Linked DNA regions of Homo sapiens: regions 1, 2 and 4 are each linked to region 3. The links are contacts of gene promoters, found by promoter capture Hi-C in blood cells and fetal thymus (Javierre and others, 2016). All regions are on one chromosome and are shown on one strand. Each heading gives the region's core, a stretch centred on a gene start or on the middle of the fragment in contact. The rest is flanking DNA. Distances are from core to core; before and after follow the strand shown.

Region 1 (3,134 bases), core at 418-2,917, 130 kb after region 3:
GAATTGCAGCTCCCATCATTCCCATGTGTTGTGTGAGAGACCAGTGAGAGATAATTGAATCATGGGGTCGCATCTTTCCCCTGCTATTCTCATGATAGTGAATAAGTCTCACGAGATCTGATGGTTTTGTAAAGGGGAGTTTCCCTGCACAAGTCCTCTTCTCTTGTCTGCCTCCATATGAGATGTGCCTTTCACCTTCTGACATGATTCTGAGGGCTCCCAGCCATGTGGAACTGTGAGTCCAATAAACCTCTTTCTTTTGTAAATTGTCCAGTCTCAGGTATGTCTTTATCAGCAGTGTGAAAATGGACTAATACAGGCCCCATCACTCATTTCTGCAGAGTAAGGGCCCTGAGGCCCAAATATCACTCCCAGGATTCCATTGTTAAGCCCCAATTCCACCATTAAATTCCACTTGGATCACAGATGCTGCACATACACAACCATGGCCAAGCCTCTCAATTTTATGTTTATTGAACATGCAGAACAGCAGACATCACTAAAAAGGCGTCTCAGTCATGCCCAGTGTTCCAGTAAATTGGAGGTAGAAATTATGCCAATCAGAAAAAATACTGCCTTTTTGGCAATCACCAAATCACTAAAGCTTTATGTGTGTAGTCGTACTATTGGAGCATCTGCAGATGTCACACATGTAAATGCAACATGGTGGTCAATTAGAAAATCAACTCAATGTTTCTTTTAACAGATTCCTTAAGCTTCCTACATAAATCTCACTCCAAATTAACATTAGCTTTCCAAAGAGAAAAGAGCATTCTGTGACCATTTCCACTGCAATTTAATTCTTTTTTAGTTCTCAGAATGATGGCAAGGCCATCAGGAGTGAGGATGATGGCTCAGCATTTTTGGGGCCTCCTGAATATATCAAAGGGAGAAGCTAGAGGTTAAAACAGCCCTCAAAAGAGGAGCCTGTCATGTCAAAGGAATGTGCAGGAAGGCTGAGCAGAATTAATTTCCTCCTGGTATAAAATATTCCTTCTGATCATAAATAAATCTGCTCAGAAGTAACTCCAGCAAACCACGAAACTGTTTCGAGGGGGCTAAGTGGCAAATCACAGCTTTGATGGTGACAAAAGAGAAAGAAAGTGAGATCACTAGATTCAACTTTGTCCTTTCCTTGCATTCTTCAAAAGCAAAATCCCCAGCCTCCCTCCTCATCTCCCCCCACCCAAGAACTGCACATTTCTCATGGCCTAATATGAACAAAACGGTTTATGACCAGATGAGCAGACAGCCAGATAACTCTAAGGAAGAAAGAGGGCAGAAAGGCTAAGATGAAGACACAGGGTGGAGAAACTCTGCCTGGCTCCAGCTGCCTCTCTCACGTCCACCATCCTGCATCTGGCAACAGGAGTTCCCCAGTTGTCACGGGGGATGCTCCAGCTGAAAGGGTCCAGGAGCTATAGGACAATAGGACGTTACAGGCCTCTTCTTCCCACCTTGGAGAGAAGGCTCAATGAAAGAATCTTGTTTGCCTTTTATTTTTCCATTGTGTATTTCTTTTTTTTTTTTTTTTTTTTTGAGACAGAGTCTCGCCCGGTCACCCAGGCTAGAGTGCAGTGGCACAATCTCGGCTCACTGCAACCTCCACCTCCTGGGTACAAGCGATTCTCCTGCCTCAGCCTCCCGAGTAGCTGGGATTACAGGCTCATGCCACCATGCCCAGCTAATTTTTGTATTTTTAGTACAGATGGGGTTTCACCATGTTGACCAGGCTGGTCTTGAACTCCTGACCTCAGATAATCTGCCCACTTCAGCGTCCCAAAGGGCTGGGATTACAGGGGTGATCCACAGTGCATTTCTTGAATGTATTTGGCCATGGAATGCTCTATTCATCAAACATCTGTAACGGTCTGTTATAATGCAATTATTTCCATCTCAGTTTTAGCTGAGGGTCTATGATAAGAGCTGCCACCTGTTCTCACATTCCAAAGTGAGATTCCAGTCCCTGAAACTTGCGTGATTGTTTGTTACTGCAGCACAACTGAGTCCATGCGGACTGATACAGATGAGCACCAGACACGAGCCTTGCCCATCAGACACTGTTGCCTGCATATTTCAAACGGGACATTTTTTTCTTAAAGGGCCAGATAGCAAACAGGTTTTGTGGGCCATGGCTCATTTGGCCACAGACTATAGTTTGCTAAGCCCTGTTCTAGACCCCTCATGCTGGACTTGCAAAGGAGAAGGTAAAAAACCAGTTTCATGGCTCTTGGCTTTTCATGCATTGGAAGGTATAAAAGGGTTAAAATTGCAGAGGTAGAGAAGTCGAAGTATGCAGGTTGTTCTTTAGAGAGAGCTCTTGGGGTACTATGATCCCCAACCCTAAAGAGAAACTGTTAGGTGTAGTTCAATGGTCTATTACCATGGAAAACCCACCCTAAACATCAATCTTCAATGGTAGATTATCTGTAAGGACTCTTCAGGTTGGTAGCCGGATAGTCGCTTTGCTGCTGCTGGTGCCATCTGGGGTCACTCATATGACTGCACTCAGCTAGGATTTTGGCTGCCACTGGAAGCTCAAGGTGGTGACACGTCCCCCTTTCCCACCACAGGTTCCCCTCACACCAGGCTCCAGCTAGGCCAGGGGCAAAGCTTTACCTCTGAACAGAGTTTGGGGTTTTGATTATTAAACAAGACTGGACATGCTAGTTATCTAACTGACAGATATGTGTGGCCACCAGCACGGAAAGCTTTTTATTACCTGAGTAAAAAGATTTCCTCCAGGACTAGGGAAAGGACTAGACCTACAACATCAGAGCCAGGGCAGGGGGAGGTACATTACTTTCTGGTTATCCCCATTCAGTTGATGTGACACTTATCACATTTCCCAAGCAATGTCTCTGGAATAGAAATAGGTACATATTTAAGTAACCATATGGAAATAGGTACATATTTAAGTACGCATGTGTACCTACTTCCATTCCAGAGACATTGCTGGGAAAAGACGCTCAGGGAAAATTAGGATGTGCTGGAGCCTCTAACACCAGCAGACGCTGGTTCTCATGGTGGTGTGTGAGCTCTCATTTCTTGCTCCATCTATGAGACTCTACTCCCACACCCTGTGGACAAGGTACAAGTCCACATACCTGTACGACGATATGGTGGCTCATTGC
Region 2 (3,041 bases), core at 55-2,554, 240 kb after region 3:
TTACTCCATGCCAGGTACTGTTATTAGCCTGTTAAAGTTATTAAATCATTTAACTATCACAACAGTGTGATAGTTAGGATAATTGTTCAACAAAAATTCACTCCCCTCTGTCTCTCCCTAGGGGCGTACGCTTCTCTCTCCCATTGACCAGCTTTGGCCAATAGGACTTCCCCTTTAATTCTCCTCTTTGCCATCAGAACATGCCTTATGTAGCCGGTGGCCCAAAGAAGATGAAAGACAAATGGAGAAGACCTGTGTTTAATCCACAGCTCAGAGCCAAGCCTAGCAAGCCCCACCTAGATAAGCCAAACCCAAGCCTCCTCCTCCCCAGCCTCTCTCCAGATGCATGAATGAAAAAAACAATAGTTGTTGTTGATGTTACTAAGTCTGGGGGTGGTTTGTTCTATAGCAATAACTGACTAAGACCCACGGGTACTACGAGAACTCCCTGTTTACATATTTAAAAAACTGAGGCACGGGGAGATTCAGTAACTGACATGTGTTCACAAAGCAAGTTAGCGACAGCAAAAATTTGAACCCAACCAGTCTGGTTCCAGCACCTATCATCATACAATAGGGGTGGGGAATCTTAAAGAACAAATCCCAAAAGCTTGTTAACATAACAAACCAAAAGAGGCAAATAACAGCTTCGTTTATGTCCAAAGTCAACAACAGATAGCACCTCCAAGCCAGAACCTGAACATGTTGGGAAAATACCAAGATTGACATGAGCTGAAAGAAGAGGTTTCATTCTCAGTAGAGCTTCAAGGACTCTTCCCAGAGAAGGGGCACAGTTCCACAGAGAGGAGTTCAGAGAGCAGCAGGGCCAGCGCCAGTGGTCATTAACAGTTGTGGAACATGATGAAGTTCATGGCCACCCTCTGGTAAGATGTCACTCATGGTATGTGTCCCCATCCAGCCTCCTGAGGAGGAGAGAAGGAGACAATGGGTCAGGGGAAAAGGAGAGCAAGAAAAGGAGGTAGTTTACATATGAGAGATAGAAGGAAGCTGTCTACCCTGCACTGCGGAATTCCTTTATTAAAAGAACTTTGGTTTGAGCGGGGTGGCTCATGCCTATAATCCCAGCAGTTCAAGAGGCGGAGGTGGGAGGATAGCCTGAGCCCAGGAGTTTGAGACCAGCCTGGGCAACATGGCAAAACTCTGTCTCTACAAAAAAAAAAAAAAAAAAAAAATTAAAAATGAGCCGAGCGTGGTGGCATGTGCCTGTAGTTCCAGCTAGTTGGTAGGTTGAGAAGGGAGGATCCACTTGACACTGGAAGGTTGAGGCTGCAGTGAGCCATGACCTCGCCACTGCACTCCAGTCTGGGAGACAAAGCAAGATTCTGTCTCAAAAAAAGAAAAAAAGAAACCCAACTTCATGAATATCACGTTGTGAGTCCCCTGTGTTTATTTCAGTGTCCTTGATGAGCCAATAGAGTAATCAAGGCACAGAAGAGGGATGTGGCTTACACCAGATAAAATAATACTGAGTAATTTTCTGAGTCAATAGGAATCCAGATCTCTCCAGAGTCCTGGACCAAGCATAGTTTGAGGATGCCATTTGACATCTGAATGTGAGCACTAGAAAGGCCCTTTGGCTTCCTGGGGTCCAAGTTCTGAGAGATGGGGAGATGAGGAGACCCAGAAGGGCCAATGACTGGTCAAAGCCACATGCAAAGCCCACCAGGTTACTCTACGGATTGGAGATATCTGTAGCGATATCTCTTAAAATTTCTATGCCCTCTTGTCTCCCTCGTCACCCCTATGGTTCTCCCACCCTTTCCTCTAACACCCTGAAAAACTTCTCCTGAACCCTAAATAGAGGGCTTCTTGTTCATTTCTTTCTCCTCCTTTCTTTTTGATTCTATATCCCTAAGTTCTTCCAAAAACCTAGTCAAGAATCAAGAAAACCTGATTAGATGACAGCAGGAAAGCAAAGGCCAGGAACACCCATTCATGAATAAATTTGGCTTGCTCTTACCCAAAGAATAAGCTTCAGTTTATAGCCTCTCCTTTTAGTTCACCTAATGTTCCGTCCTCATTCTCTCCTCCCAATACACAGCTTCGGGGTGATTCTACCATAAAGTGAACCAGGCAATTGCTTATGCCCCAAAACCCCACTCATCCACAATTAACACTCCTCAGGCTTGAGTCACGATGGCAGAAGGATGTATTAGTTCCCACATACACACTTCTACTTTACCCAAATAAGTGTGTTTGTGTGAAGGCTACACCACAAATGTGCATATGCAGCTGGGCATCCTTTCAAGGGAAACATGGTGCTCAGGGATGTTTTATCTAGAGAATCCATTGAACTTGACATTGTCAGAAATTTATTTAGGACAAATGCAAACTAGCAGGAACTGTGTAAAATATTCAGCACACAACATGAGTTGGACACAATCAGGTACCCCTGCCGCACCCTTGAGAATCTGGCTTGTGGATGCTCTTCCAACACTGGGACCGTTTGACCACAGGTAAATTCAGCTCATAGAGGTCATCATTGCCTGAGCCAAGCCTGTCACACAAAGTGGTCTGTCTGAACTGGCTCTCAAAACTCACTAACCAGACTGTGCTTCCAGTTGATATGGCATTTTGTAGGCAGCATAGATCAATTGGAAAAGTGAATTATTCCCGGTTAGTGACTAATAATAAGATAATAACATTATAACCACCTCCCAAAAAATGTGTAGGAGCTGAAGAAAATGTAGCAAGAGCAGAAAAACTGAATTAAGTTATGCAAAAAAAATCAAGAGTGGGTGACTTTGCGAGAAGGCAAAGAGCAGTTAATGTGGCTTCAGAATTAAATTACTCCTCTGTTATAGATGAATTTAGCACCACAAAATGTAGGTAAATGTATTTAAATGATCATAGAGCTTATAAATCCAATAAATCATTATGATCTTACTGAGATGGCTTGGTTCACTTTTTTTTTGAACCTAAAAACACCTCATAACAGCCTGCAGTGAGATCTGGGGCCTGCCGCTGTGCCCAAACAGGTTTCATCCTTGTCCACTGTGATCCTTTCTGGTTCTAGCTCA
Region 3 (3,073 bases), core at 452-2,951:
GTTCTGGGCCTGGGAGGCAGATTTGGATCATGCCTGAGAATTCACCAAGCTGAGCCGCCCCCATGTAAGGCCACTGGGAATAATCCCAATAGTTTCCACTTGTCAGCCTCCAGTCAGAGGGAGTCTGCCTCTCATGGTCAAAGTTGCCAGGCCTGCAGACAAAACACTGGGGCAAGGCAGGTCCCCAAAGCCATCGTGGAGCAGGATTGGTCCAGGATGAAGCTTTCACTGCCCATTCATGGGAGGAGAAAACCCTGGAAAATGAAGGCAAGGAAAATGGCCAGCTGCCTCTGTTTGAAAAGGGCCATCCTGCGCGCTGAGATCAGAATTCTTTGATTACTTCGTTTGTATTAAAATGTCCCTTTTTACCAGCCTGGCCAACATGGTGAAACCCTATCTCTACTAAAAATACAAAAATTAGCTGCGCGTGGTGGCACACACCTGTAATCCCAGCTACTCGGGATGCTGAGGCACGAGAATTGCTTGAACCTGGGAGGGGGAGGTTGTGGTGAGCTGAGATCATGCCACTGCACTCCAGCCTGGGCAACAGAGTGAGACTCTGTCTCAAAAAACAAAAAATAAAATAAAGTAAAATAAAATAAAATAAAATAAAATAAAATGTCTTTTTTTTAAAGTAGAAAATGATGTTGATAGTAAATGATATTTTCTTTTTTATTTAAAAATAAAGTTGTATTTTTCTTTCTGTTTTTAAAAATTTTTTACTCATCAATATAATTGAAAACTGTCTAGAAACCACATCTGTAGAGGTAGGGAAACAGAGAAGTAAGTTGTAATCAAGAACAACAAGGTCTCCAATCTGAGCTTTGTAGAACAAACTCCAGCATGGGGAAGAAGGCAGGAACTCAGTTGTCAGAGGCCACACAGGGTGGCCCAGCTCTCAGAAGCAAGGGTGGGCCCAGGGATGAGGACAGAGGTTCAAGGAAGTATAGGCACAACTGTGACCCTGTGAACCCCTCCTTCCCCGGGTCAGGGCTGGTCCTGGAGCTGAGGATGGAGCTGAGCCTCCAGCCGGGCAGTGGGGGAGGGTGTCTCAGTCACAGAAAGAGGAAGACCCAGGAACAGGAGGCAGACAGGTCACCACTGAGAACAAGAGAGGCCTGGACAGGCAGATTCTGCAAGTGTGGCTCAAGGCATGCAGCTGCCTCTATTCCCCATTTTTGGCTCAGATGACCCCTTCCCATAAGCAACCATGTGTGTGGGCATTTCTCTGGCCTTAGCAGAACCAGTGGCCTAGGGCAAGGCCTCTTACAAGAGACAAAGTCACTGGGAGTAGGGGATAGGGGGCTGGGGGGTGGCCAAAGAGTCACATTCTGGCACGTGGAGCTTGAGGTATCTCGTCTCTGGAACATACAAGGAAAGAGGTTCTATAGGTCATTGAATTCATAGCTCTTAGGTTTGGGGGAAGAACACTTACTTAGGAAAACCTTTAGGTAAAACCTGAGAGAGCCTGCAAACTTGAAAGCAGAGCACGTAGACCGGGATGAGAAGAGGAGCCCTGGAGACCCCTGAGGACACTGGTGCCTAAGGGCCTGGCTGAGGTGCTCGGGAGGCCAGGAGGGGAACAGAGAAGGGAAAGTCAGAGCGGGAAGGAGAAAGCAGAGTGTGGTGGGAGGCATAAAAATGGAGAGACTTTTAAGGCTCTAGGAGTGGCCATGGTGCTGGTGTTGTGTCTGAGAGGTCAAGGCAGGGGTGAATCCATCTGGTTATGTGATGTGGAGCTCCTCTGTGATGCTGGCGGAAGACCATTCTAAAGCCAGGTCATAATAAATAGAGAGAGGAGTGAATAGGAAATGGGAATATGAAGACAGCTTTTTGGAAAAGCTTGATTAGAAAGAGGAGAAAGAGATGGTATGGAAGCCTAAGGTGGATACTTGATTGGGGTGAGGGAAGGGGGAGTTTTTTTTTTTAAGATGAAAGACAGTTGGTTATGTTTTCAGGTCCTAGGAAACATACCAGAAATTAACGAGATACAAGAAAAACAGGGAGTCTATTAATGGGGTGAGGAATGTGAGAGGGATAGACGCTGGCTCATACTTGGTGGCAGTGTAGGAAAGTTGAGAAACAGTGACTGGGAAACAGGGATTCTCTGAAGCTGGGTTTATTAATTCCAAATTGCCAAGTGTCTGTTGTTGGGGACATTTCTGACATTGTGAATGTGTGATCATGTGATCCCAGGTTACATCCAATCTAACCAGCAAACAAATGTCTGTCATAAGAACAAATGATTGACTGCTGCCTAACAAACCACCTCCCAAGCTTAATGGCTGAAAACAACAACCATTTATTATTTGTCACCATTCTGTGGGTTGGCTAGGCTCACCTGGGTGGTTCTTCTGCTCCACAAAGCAGGTGAGGTCATTCATGTGGCTGCATTTAGCTGGGAGCTTGACGAGGGTGGAGTGAGAGAGGGCTTCACTGGCTTATTCCCCTCCACATGGCTTCCCATCCTCCAGGGTTTCTGTCTCCACATGGCCTCTACAGTAGGAGAGCCTGGACTGCTTTACACCATGGCTGACTTCTAAGAGAGCAAAAGAAGCTGCAAGGCCTCTTAAGGCCTAGTCTCAGAAATCATATAGCTTCACCCCCACTGCCTTCTACTGGCCAAAGGAAGTCACAAGGAGGCCCAGACCCAAGGGGAGGGGAAAGAGATTCCACATCCTTATAGGAGGAGCTGCAAAGTCAGAAGGTGGAGGAGCATGCAGGATGAGAGGGACTGTGGTCACCAAGTTTGGAAACACCTGAGCAGAGTACATCTCAGGAGTCACTGTTCTAGCTGAAACTTCATTCTCAAACATAGGGAAGCATTTCAGATGCAATTTGCAGTAAACATATCTTATGCTTTTTAAACTGCTAAGTGAATGTGAATTAGATGGAAAAAATCATTTTAAATGAACATTATAATTATGCTTTTATTACATAAATGTGCATTTGTGGTAAAATTACAAACAGTGTTTTACAAAAAGGAAAAACGGAAGTCAATTGAAATTCCACTCCCTAAATGACATGCGCAGCAGGCATATAACCCCGCAGGCTCTTGGACTTACAAACAGAA
Region 4 (3,061 bases), core at 499-2,998, 250 kb before region 3:
CCAGAGTGGTGTATTCTGGGGTGGCGTGTCCTGAACCCCTTCAGTGGCCTGGCTCAGACGGGAGCCTGTGGATGGAGAGCAGTGGACGGGTTCCAGGCTGGAGCAGTAAGGCTCGGTGCTGGGGAGGTGTGTGGCAGGGGGCACACTGATGAGCATTCACTCCTTTAACCTTCGCAAGAACCCCCAGGCCAGGCAGTCAGGTGTGTACAATCTACTGAAGGAGAAAACCGAAGTTTAAGTTCAGTGCACGGCAGGGGTAGAGCTGGGGCTCAAACTCCCCTGTCCAGTCTTCAGCCCCTATACCCCAACCTGCAGGAATAAGTGAATGAATACATGAGGCTGGGTACGCCTGGGGCACAGAGGAGCGAGTGAAATCAGCAGAGGAGGAGGCCCGCGCAGGCGGCAGGAATCAAGGATGCAGTGCCAGGTGGGCTGCGGCGAGAGAGCTTTATTCTGAGGGCAGTGAGAAGCCGTGGGTAGGGGTGGGTGGTCAGTGCCATGGAAAACCCACCCTTGACCCTGAGGACACGCTCCCAGGAGCCCACCCACACCTCATGAACTTGTACGGACAAGGACAATGGGAGGCTGAGACCTGGAGCAAGGGCCTTGTCCCGGGCACAAGGCAAAGGGACGGGCAGCGTTAAGAGACCAGGCCGGCTCCGGCTGGAAGTGGGTGTGTCCTACTGTGTGCTGCCGCATGCATGGTGGCACCTCTGGATGCATTCAACTTCCAGTTCTCTGCAGTGCCAGGTACCTAGTGACAAAGGAGGTCCAGCCCTGGTCCCAGGGAATGGCCCAGTTTGGAAAGCAGCCTAGGTACAGCCTGGCACATAGTAGGTGCTCAGCCAAGACGTGTGTCCTTTTCCCTTCCGTCTCTGACTGTTCCTTTCCTTATCACTCCTGTGCTGAGGCAGGAATCAGCACAGGCAGGGGCACGGCATCCCAAGACATCTGGGCCTGTGCTCAGGACTGTACGGCAGAGTCTCTTAGACCAAAGATCAGTAAATATGGCCCACGGGGCAAATCCCACCCACTGCCTGTTTTTGTACAGCCTAGGAGCTGAGAATGGTTTTTACGGATGAACATTTGCAATCGGTTTGATGAAACACTAACTCTAAACTCCAATTAAGCAAAAGGTGATGTCTGTAAAAAGAACTCTATTCTTCTCATGAGTGGACCTACATTACAAAATACTGGCCTCAATTATTATTATTCTATTTTGAGTTTTGTCAGTTACAAAATAGTAAAAATCTGTTTTCTCACTGCACAATGATTTTGCCCTCAAAGCCTAAAATATTGGTTCTCTGTTCTGTCCTTCCACTCCTCACCCTGCCTGGGGCTCTCCAGATGTAACCAATCCCAGGACTAATGACCCCCACCCGGCCTCCCCAGTGGTCCGTGCTGCGGCCGGTGTGCCCGACTGCAGGGCTGGACTGTGGACTCCCGGGCTGGCCAGCCCCACACCCAGCCTTGCCTTGGGACACAGCTGCTGCCCCGGGGGACCTGTGCCGCAGTGGCCTCACGAGCTGCTCTGGCTACTGGCTGGCAGCCTCGGCTCCCCTGAGCACTGAGCACATTCTTCTCTCCAACTCCCTGCAGGAGCCAAGGCCAGCGGGCGTGGGTGGCTGAAATCTCCCCGGTAACAGGGTCTGCGCCCCTCCTGCTCCCTCTCCGGGCCTCCTCCCTTAACCTGCACCCCGCCCCCACCCCCCACACCTGCTCTCCGGCCCTCAGCCCCTCCCTGCTTACTCCCTCCTTCACGGGCTCCATGTCACCATCTGTGGCACAGTCCCTCTCTGTCACTCTCCCTGCCACCCCCTCATTCTCCTTCCTCCCTCCTGCCTCTCTCTGCATCTCTCCCTCTCACCCGTGTCTCCTCTCCTCTCTTTCCTTCTCGTCTTCTCCCTGTCACGCATCTCTCATCACTCCCCCTCATTCTGCCTTTCCTCCTACTCACGGTCTCCTCTCCCTCTCCCTCTCTCTCTCTCCCCCTCCCTCTTTCTCTCTCTCTCTCTTTCTCCACCTCCTCCCGACCCCCTTTCCCCTCTATTTCTATTGGCTTCTGTGTCCCTTGCTCCCCTCTTCTCTTCCTCACCCTGGGAAGCTTCTCCCCCCTATCCTTGCCCCTGCCCCCCCAGGATGTGTCCTGGAGATGGGGGGTGACGTACCAGGCTCTGGTTGGGAAGTCAGGGCCGGAGACCAGATGGGAGAGGCTCTGTGGACAGCCGTGGCCGAGGGCCTGGGAGGGAACCTGAGCCCGCAAGCGGTCTAGAAGTGGGTGCCTTGTGGGGACCCTAGTTAGGAGTGCCCTGGGGGCACCTGGGGACTGGGCAGGGAGAGGGGACAGCAGAATGATAACCAGCCTGGCGGCAAGGAGGGAAGCCCTCACCCCATGGGCAGGTAAGGAGGCTGGGGCCCGGATGATGTCCCGAAGGGTGGGGTCCTGGAAGCCCATCCTCTGCCCAGGATGAACTTGGGAGGCTGGGGCTGGGGAGGCAGAGGGTGGGGACTCCCAGGGAGGCAGGAGGGAGGCCTTCCTGTGACCTCCCGGTCGGCTGCAGGGGCAGGGGCGTTAGTCTCAGAATCTCGTGCCATGATTCTAGGATCTCGGAATCACAGAATCGCAGGCTGTCAGGGCTGGAGGGAGCCAGATGTATCATGTCGTTGGCTTCCCCAGCTCACGTGGCAGCTCTCCTGAGCTCCCCCTCCATACCCGGCACTGTGCTTGGCACGCCTCCGTTTAATCTCTGCAAACAACCCTGGGAGGTGGGTCCGCTTGTCTTCCATATGACGAAACTGAGGTGCAGCGGGGAGAAGTGACTTGCCCGAGGTCACACAGCAATTTGGCATCATCGCTGTGCAGCAGAGCCCAAGCCCCCAGCGCTGGGCCTGTAGGGTGTGCTCCTGGGATCAGGCCCCAGGCCTGGGGTGCCAGTGAGTCAGTCGGCACTGGCAAGCATAAGCCAGGTGTCTTTGGGGGGAAGGCCGAAGCATGTAGAGGACAAGCAGAGAGCCAGGGGCCATCGCCCTGCACTATTCAGGACTGTCATGGCCTTTGATC

The links. The method cuts DNA at HindIII sites, captures the fragments that hold promoters and counts their contacts. A CHiCAGO score of 5 or more calls a contact.
Region 1: a fragment that was not itself captured here is called in contact with the fragment with the promoter of LL22NC01-81G9.3 in region 3 in 2 of 17 cell types (endothelial precursors and monocytes); the score reaches 8.3 in endothelial precursors.
Region 2: a contact is called between a fragment that was not itself captured here and the fragment with the promoter of LL22NC01-81G9.3 in region 3, in 1 of 17 cell types (endothelial precursors). The highest score is 6.4, in endothelial precursors.
Region 4: a contact is called between the fragment with the promoter of SSTR3 here and the fragment with the promoter of LL22NC01-81G9.3 in region 3, in 3 of 17 cell types (erythroblasts, neutrophils and monocytes). The highest score is 5.9, in erythroblasts.

What each region holds. Positions count from the first base shown.
Region 1 is chr22:36,834,976-36,838,109 of GRCh38, reverse strand. No RefSeq gene overlaps it. Among named protein-coding and RNA genes, the nearest start is that of PVALB, 20 kb to the right of the region's middle. The HindIII fragment of the contact is 1,897 bases long and covers 719-2,615 here.
Region 2 is chr22:36,718,798-36,721,838 of GRCh38, reverse strand. All of the region lies in intron 1 of CACNG2-DT (CACNG2 divergent transcript), which reads right to left. Among named protein-coding and RNA genes, the nearest start is that of CACNG2-DT, 16 kb to the right of the region's middle. The HindIII fragment of the contact is 1,383 bases long and covers 613-1,995 here.
Region 3 is chr22:36,963,876-36,966,948 of GRCh38, reverse strand. LL22NC01-81G9.3 (a long non-coding RNA gene) reads right to left here and starts at 1,701. Exons shown (of 4, transcript NR_038954.1): 1 at 1,436-1,701; 2 at 442-559. The HindIII fragment of the contact is 1,620 bases long and covers 225-1,844 here.
Region 4 is chr22:37,211,164-37,214,224 of GRCh38, reverse strand. It overlaps SSTR3 (somatostatin receptor 3), which reads left to right and starts at 1,748. Exons shown (of 2, transcript NM_001051.5): 1 at 1,748-2,400. RefSeq lists an enhancer at 1,930-2,909. The HindIII fragment of the contact is 10,151 bases long and covers 1-2,106 here.